2 separate regions of the Homo sapiens genome follow, and region 2 is linked to region 1. The links are contacts of gene promoters, found by promoter capture Hi-C in blood cells and fetal thymus (Javierre and others, 2016). All regions are on one chromosome and are shown on one strand. Each heading gives the region's core, a stretch centred on a gene start or on the middle of the fragment in contact. The rest is flanking DNA. Distances are from core to core; before and after follow the strand shown. Region 1 holds the start of KCTD21 (potassium channel tetramerization domain containing 21). Region 2 overlaps NARS2 (asparaginyl-tRNA synthetase 2, mitochondrial).

The links. The method cuts DNA at HindIII sites, captures the fragments that hold promoters and counts their contacts. A CHiCAGO score of 5 or more calls a contact.
Region 2: a fragment that was not itself captured here is called in contact with the fragment with the promoter of KCTD21 in region 1 in 3 of 17 cell types (neutrophils, fetal thymus and monocytes); the score reaches 8.1 in neutrophils.

The regions. Positions count from the first base shown.
Region 1 is chr11:78,186,813-78,190,662 of GRCh38, forward strand. It overlaps KCTD21 (potassium channel tetramerization domain containing 21), which reads right to left and starts at 1,814. Exons shown (of 2, transcript NM_001029859.3): 1 at 1,761-1,814. It overlaps USP35 (ubiquitin specific peptidase 35), which reads left to right and starts at 2,107. Exons shown (of 11, transcript NM_020798.4): 1 at 2,107-2,345. RefSeq lists silencers at 1,531-1,870, 2,301-2,460. The HindIII fragment of the contact is 4,363 bases long and covers 1-2,843 here.
Region 2 is chr11:78,444,317-78,448,166 of GRCh38, forward strand. The region is part of intron 11 of NARS2 (asparaginyl-tRNA synthetase 2, mitochondrial); the gene reads right to left. Among named protein-coding and RNA genes, the nearest start is that of LINC02728, 16 kb to the left of the region's middle. The HindIII fragment of the contact is 6,277 bases long and covers 1-3,850 here.

The sequences.
Region 1 (3,850 bases), core at 564-3,063:
GCATCTGCGGAGAATTTTAGTCTAACCCCTTACCACAGCCAACTTTACTTAAGTAGATGGATGCCTGGCTCCCTTGCTGGGGCTGGGGGTGCCCCTTTCTATATCCACAGAAGCACGTAGAATAGGGGAAGAGGAAGAAATTTCTCTCCTGTTTAGTCAGATCCATTTTCCCCACCTGGATTTTCAAAACTTTTTAATTTTGAAATGCTCTGTTCAATTTTCAATCTGGAATCTAAAGGGATGTGACAAGGCCGAGGTGATTACTTGGGAGTAAATGCAAGGAGAGTTTCCACTGCGTAAGGGAATGGACAGCACGTGGCTGGGTAAATTTCAAAAAAGACAATGCTCAGAGTGAGTACTGTGTTTTCCAGTAAGTGGGAGACTTCCCCACCTTACCCCACCGGAGAAAGGACTCTTTGCCTTGAAGCCCCTAGGACGACTACCCTTTCTTCACCTCCTCTTCCTGACCACCCCACATCAAAGAGCTGCGTCTATAATTCTGTCTTGCCCAGTCCATATCTCTAAGAAATCCGAAGGCTGCTCTATTACCATCACAACCCATAGGGAGGAGAGAAAAGGTGCTTCCTAGACACAGGGACCCCAGAATGAGCTGCGCAAAAGGCAGGAGGAGAGAAAGGTGGGCTGGAAGAAGGAGACCACGGAATCTGGCACGGCAAGGTATTCTTTCATCTGGCGTAGACCTCCAACAACCACTACCATCCCCCAGCCCCTTCCAGAACTTTCCTTCACCTTCTCGGCTCACTCTCACGCTTCACCTTGTGCTTTTCCTCCGGCACCAGCACCCCATTTCAAACCGCTCTCTTCCTATGTCTCCTCCAAACAGTAATTTATAAACACCGTGCTTTCAAATCCATCTCATTTCATCCTCACAGTACTATAGGAGGGCTGCCTTACAGGCTGTCATTCGGAAGGGTTGGGGGGACTGGTCCTGCCAGACAATTTGCGAAGGTCGGGGCATCAAAACTTTTCTTTCCTGCCTCCCACGCCAAGCTAAACCTCTGCCTCCCCGAGTGCAGGGAGAAAAGCAAGGTCTTTGAAGTAAGGAGTCCTGAGTGGTTTTAGGCAAGTCCCTTCGCTTTTCTGAGCCTCACATTCCTCACCTGTCAACCGCTATAGTGACGCCTCTACTTTTCAGGGCGTGGGAGGTCAATGAGATCACTGGTGTGCCGCACTGAACTCGGGGATGGACTCTTTATTTCCAGTCAGTAAAGGGAGGTGTTCTATGCATCACAGGCTTTTGCCCACGCCGCCACAGCGCGGCCGGCCCAGGGCTCTCCAGAGCGGGGCAAGTTCCCTGTCATCTGTGTCTCCGCCCTTCCTTCCCCAATCTCACCCAGGCTGGCCTCATCGGCTTGTTCCGCACCCACTCCCCAGCCCTACAGCCCCCACTCCGACCTGACAAGTGCCCCACCCCCACCTAGAGATCCCGCCTCTCCTTGCCCCACCCACCAAGGACTCCTCCCACAGTCCCGACCCTCATTATCCGGGCTTTTCCGACTATCACCATCCGCCCTTGCTCTCCCAACAGCCCCGCCCCTCTAAGAGCTCTGCCCACTTCGGCTCACCTCGCTCCGAAACGCGCCCCCTCCCCCGCACCACAGGCGATGCCATCCCCATTTCACAGATGGGAATGGCGAGGCTGGGATAGATTAGTCTCATGGTAAGACAGGTGCTCAGTGGGCCCACGTACCCTCGCCGGTAGTCCCCGAGCCCCGCGACCCCGGCCGTGCCGCACCCACCTCCTGCCCTCGCTCTGCAGCCTCTCCCTCCGCGAGCGGCCAGCGCAGCTTTGCGAGGGGGGCGGAGGGTAGGAGCCCAGCCCAGGGGCGTGGCGGTCCGGGGTCTGTGCGCTGCCTTCCGGGACTGGTAGTTCTCTCTGGGCTCCTCGCAGCTCGGCGCGTCGAGAGCGAACTCCATCTCCCAGGAGGCATTGCAGCGAGTTGCTCTGCGCCCCGCCTCGTCCCCGCCGGTGTCCGGCCGGCTGGCCTTAAAGGGGACGCGGTCAGAGTGGCAGCTCGCGGGGTGGCCCCCGCTCCGGCTCCGCCCCATTTCACGCACCTCGCCCCTCCCCATGCTTCATCCCGCAGCCCCGGGGCCGCGCCGCAGAGTCGGGCTTCCTGGATACATAGAGGCTTGTGCCAGGCGGGGTGGGAAGACTGGATTTTGCAGTGGAAGCAGCATCTCTTCCGTCTGGGACCTGGCTGAGGGCGTCCCCACCCTGGGGGGAGCAGAGGACCAGCCCTGACCTAGCCGGGCCCAGCCTCGTCCTGCCCGGCCTGAGCGCCCCGCCCAGCAGCCGGCTCTGGCCCACCGGGGTCCGGGAGGTAAGGGGGTTGGGGGCGTGTGACTGTCTTTGGGGGGCGGTGTCTGCACCCTGGCCTTTCGAGAACCCTGGACTTGCGAGCCCAGGGCTGGGAGTCGGGAGATCTGGGTGCATCCTGGGCCTCCTGGGCCTCACTGTGTGACCTTGGGCGAGTAGCTATTCCTCTCTGGGCATTAATCCCCTCCCTTCATCAATTGTATGTCGAAGTGATCCTGCTCCCTCCCCTTTCAGGTAAGAGGGCATTCGCACCCAGTACCTAGTACATTCGCTTGCTGGCTTTTCGTGGGGCCCTCCAGCTCAAGCGTGGGCTGGGCGCGGGTGCACTGGAGGGAGGGAGGTGGCACAAACTGGGGGGCCCGAGGCCACCATTGCTTGGAATGGGCTTTTCCTATTCTCAGTGTGCTGGGCCCTGGGATACCCTCCCCAACCCCCTCTTACGGCCCTGGCCCTTGCAAACCGGAGACCCTGATGTGTCAGCTTGGTGCCCTTCCTTCCAGAAAGCTTGGGGTGGAGTGCGGCCCTCACAGGTTTGTGAGGGGTGGCCCCGCAGGGATAGGTGTGTGTGGTGGGTTCCTGAGGAGGAATAGCTGCTCCTGCTTTCTTCCCTTCTCTCTCCTCCTTATCCTTTGAGGAAGAGCAGCTGCTTTTTACCAGTGAAACCCTTTTTTCTTTTTCTTTCCAGGAGACAGTTTGGTGGCCCAGACATGGGCCTCCCGGAGTAGGGTGAAGCACTTCTTCCCAGGGTTGCCTTGGGTAGAAGTTCAGTTAAAAAATACCTAGAGAGATGCTGCCATTCAGACACCTGAGGGGCCAGAGATGGAGGGCACCACCTGGTGTCGGGAGGGGCAGCCTGGTACCCCCAAGGAAGCTCTGGCTCCCAGGGGAGTCAAAGGAGGGAGGCTGGCTTCGAGGGTCAGAGAGGGGAGGAAATGTGCTCCTCAGCTCTTAGGTGCTGAGCAGAGGCTGGGAGGGGCTGCTCTGACCTGGAGCAGGGAGAGGTTGAGTAACACCATGAAGCCTTCTTCTCAGGTCCTAGGAGATTCTGTGAGCTTTTGACCTGAAGGCTAACCAGGAACAGATTTTTGTTTTGTTTTGTTTTGTTTTTGTTTTGTGCTTTTTCTTTTGCTTTGGTTGTTTGAACAATTTCTAGAATGGCTAAAGCCTCAGTCCAGTCCAGTGACCTCTGTAGGGGCTTTCTTGACTGATGTTTAAGATTTTCAGGGTTTTTGATATGCAAGACCAGGCCTGGGCAAAGGAGGGGGTGGTGACTGGACCAAAGGTTAGGCCAGTTTCTGGAAGGTACTTTTGTGGTTACATCTTTGGTTTTCTCTCATCTTGCTGTCACATGTCTCTCATGAGTTGCTTGACGCACCTTCACGGACACCTCAGTCCTTGGTTCTGTACTGGGCACTGGGCTCAGAGACGGGGATTGGACCTCTGCCAAGGGAGGTCCCAGCCTGGTGGGAGACAGAGACATGGATTCCAGTTATGCTGCAGAGGGATGAG
Region 2 (3,850 bases), core at 936-3,435, 260 kb after region 1:
GAGTTTAATTTGTAGTATTGTTATTAGGACATATAAAATAAATTCTGATTATTAATCAAAGAAGTATAAAATTAAAAAAACAAGATACCATTCTGGAGTTATCAAAATGGAGATGATGGCTGGGCACAGTAGCTCACACCTGTAATCCTAGCACTTTGGGAGGCTGAGGTGGGCAGACTGCCTGAGCTCAGGAGTTCAAGACCACCTTGGGGGCAACATGGTACAACCCCCGTCTCTACTAAAATACAAAAAATTAACTGGGCTTGGTGGTGCATGCCTGTAATCCCAGCTACTTGGGAGGCCGAGGCAGGAGAATTGCTTAAACCCAGGAGGTGGAGGTCACAGCGAGCCAAGATTGCACCACTGCATTCTAGCCTGGGCGACAGAGCAAGACTCTGTCTCAAACAAAACAAAAAAAAAAAAAAGGGTGATAAGAAAATAATATATCTGCAAGACTAAGTCTGAAAGAAAAAATATAGGAAAATAAAATAAAGAATACAGATTATAGAATGGATAAACCAATAAGCTCATATAACTGATACAACTTTTCTGGTCAGCAATTTGGCAACAGATAACCAAACGCCTGAAAAATGCAATATGTTTTGACTCAGCAAGCAGTTCAAGGAACCTATCCTAAGAAAATCAGAGATGCAAAAAAAGATTAACATGCAAGATGTTTATTACAGCATTACTTATGACAAAAAGTTCAAATGTACATCAACAGACTATTAGATAAGTTTTAGACATGGATAGAAAAAAGACTATCATCTACATAATGAGATGTTGTGTTGCTACTGTGATGAGATTACAAGTATTTTAAAATTGTTTTCCTCTTTTATTTGTATTTTCTTATTTTCTATACTAAACAGGTATTATAGTTTTATAATAGAAAACATCAAAAAACTCTTAGTAAGGGAAAATGATAGCTTAATATTTTAATTTGTATTTCTTCAATTACTAATTAGTATTACTAAATTAATTATATTTCTTCAATTATTAAATTAGTAATATTTAATTTTTCAGGCCGGGTGCGGTGGCTTACGCCTGTAATCCCAATACTTTGGGAGGCCGAGGTGGGCGGATCACCTGAGGTCAGGAGTTCGAGACCAGCCTGGCCAACCTAGTGAAACCCCCTCTCTGCCAAAAATACAAAAATTAGCCAAGTGCAGTGGCGCATGCCTGTAGTCCCAGCTGTTCTGGAGGCTGAGGCACGAAGAATTGCTTGAACTTATGAGGCGGAGGTTGCAGTGAGCCAAGATCATGCCACTGTACTCCAGCCTGGATGACAAAGCGAGATTTTGTCTGTCTCCCAAAAAACAATTAAAAAAATTTTTTTTAAATGTTTATTTGTGGCTGGGCACAGTGGCATGTGCTTGTAGTCTTGGCTACTTGGGAAGCTGAGGTGGGAGGACTGCTTGAGGCCAGGAATTTGAGACCAGCCTGGGCAACACAGCAAGACTCCGTCCCTACAAAATAATTTTAAAATGTTTATTTGCAGCTAGGTGTGGTGGTGCATGCCTGTGGTCCCGGCTACTTGTCAAACTGAGGCAGGAATATCACTTGAGCCCAGGAGTTCGAAGTTACAGTCAGCCATGATTATACCACCTGTACTCTAGTCTAGGCGACAGGCAAGACCTTGTCTCAAAAAAATATATATATATTTATTTGCTATCTGTATTATTTTGTGACTTTCCTGTCTTTTGGGCAGGTAGACATTTTTAAGCCCAAGAACCTGAAGGTAAAAAACTAAGATTTCATGTAACAAATGAAAAATGAGAAATCCATAAAACACATTTTAATCTTTAAATGTCACATTACATTATAAACATTTTAAAAACTTTGCCTCACTTTGCCGTTAAGCCATCCCCTTCCCAGTTTTGATTTAGAAACTTTTGATTGAGATATACTTTATGAATAATCAACAATAAAGAATAATTCAAGATTGTACCCCCAGTGCTGTATACCTTATCCTCATTACTATGATTAAAGAGAAAAACATCAGCTCTGACCCTCATCACTAGGCTGAATCAGAGTGAGCAAGAACAGCTACACAATTAATATGGCTGGGCTCTAATCAGGACCCTGCAGTTATCCCTTCTGTCCTCAGAGCAAGGAGGAAGTCTGGTATCTTTATTTCCTGGTGTCTTGCTTTTAGATATGGCTAAAATATGATAGGAGTTGAGAGACACATGGTAAAAATTTTGTTCTTTTCTTACCTTCAATCCAGAGTGTTAAATTTAGAATTATAGGCAATCAACTTTGGAAAAGAATAGTCAACCAGTGGCTCTCTGGCTTCTGCTTGAAAATATTTAAAGCCTGAGAAACAGTATCCTTGAAACAGAGCATTTCATCCTTGTTTAGCTCTAAAATTAACTCAAAATGGATTAAAGATTTAAATATAAGATCTGAAATCATAAAACTACCAGAAATAAATATAGAGAAAAAGTTCTATGACATTAGTCTGGGCAATGATTTTTTTGGAGATGACTCCAAAAGCACAGACAACCAATGCAAAACCAGACAAATGAGACAGTATCAAACTAAAAAGTTTCTGCACAGCAAAGGAAACAATTAACAAAGTGAAGAGACAACTCAAAGAATGGGAGAAAATATTTGCAAACCATACATCTTATAAGGGGTTAATACCCAAAATACATAAGGAACTCATACAACTCAACAAGAAAATAACGTGATTAAAAAAAGGTAAAGGAACTGAACAGACATTTCTCAAAAAAAAAACAAACAAACATACAAATGACTAACAGGTGCAAGAAAAAATGCTCAAAATCACTAATTATTAAGAAAATGAAAAATAAAACCACACTGAGTTATCACTTCACACCTGTTAGTGTTTTTTTTTTTCTTCCTACATTTATATTTTTAAATAGAGATGGGGTCTTGCTGTGTTGCTCAGGCTGGACTTGAACTCCTGGGTTCAAGCGATCTCCTGCCTCAGCCTCCTAAGTAGCTGGGATTATAGGTACATGCCACCATCAGGCCCAGCTTTGAATGGCTGTTATAAAAAAGATGAAAAATAAGTTTGGAGAGGATACAGAGAAAAGGAACTCTTATACACTGTTGGTGGGAATGTAAATTAGTACCGTCATTATGAGAAATGGTATGGAAGTTCCTCAAAAACCTAAAAACAGAACATACACCTCAGCAATCCCACTTCTGGGTATATATATCCAGAAGAATAGAAATCAGTATATTGGTGGTGATATCTGCACTCTAATGTTCACTGCAGCATTACTCACAATAGTAAAGATACAGAAACAACCTACGTGCCCATCAACAGATGAATGGACAAATATTGTGTATATATATACACAATAAAATACTATTCAGCCTTAAGAAGGGGGTAAATCCAGTCACTTGTGACACATGGATGAATCCAGAGGATAATGTGCTAAGTGAAATATGCCAACCACAGAAAGACAAATACCACATAATTTCACTTACATATGGAATCTAATAAGCTGAATGAATAGAAATATATAATAGAATGATGGTTACCAGAGGCTGGAGTGGGAAGGAAGGGAACGAAGAGTTGCTGATCAAAGGGTACAAAGTTTCAGATGGACAGAGGAATGGGAGACAGGGGAATGAGTTATTAATCAAAAGGTGCAAAATTTCAGGCAGAAGAATAGATTTTGAGATTTATTACATACAAGGTGACTAGAGTCAACAATACATATTATATATTTTAAAATAACTAAGAGTAAATTTCAAATGTCTCACTATAAAAATGATAGATAAGTCAGGTGAAGGATCTGCTAATTAGTTTGATTTAATCATACCACATTGTATACACATATCAAAACAGTACATTATACCCCATAACGTTAGA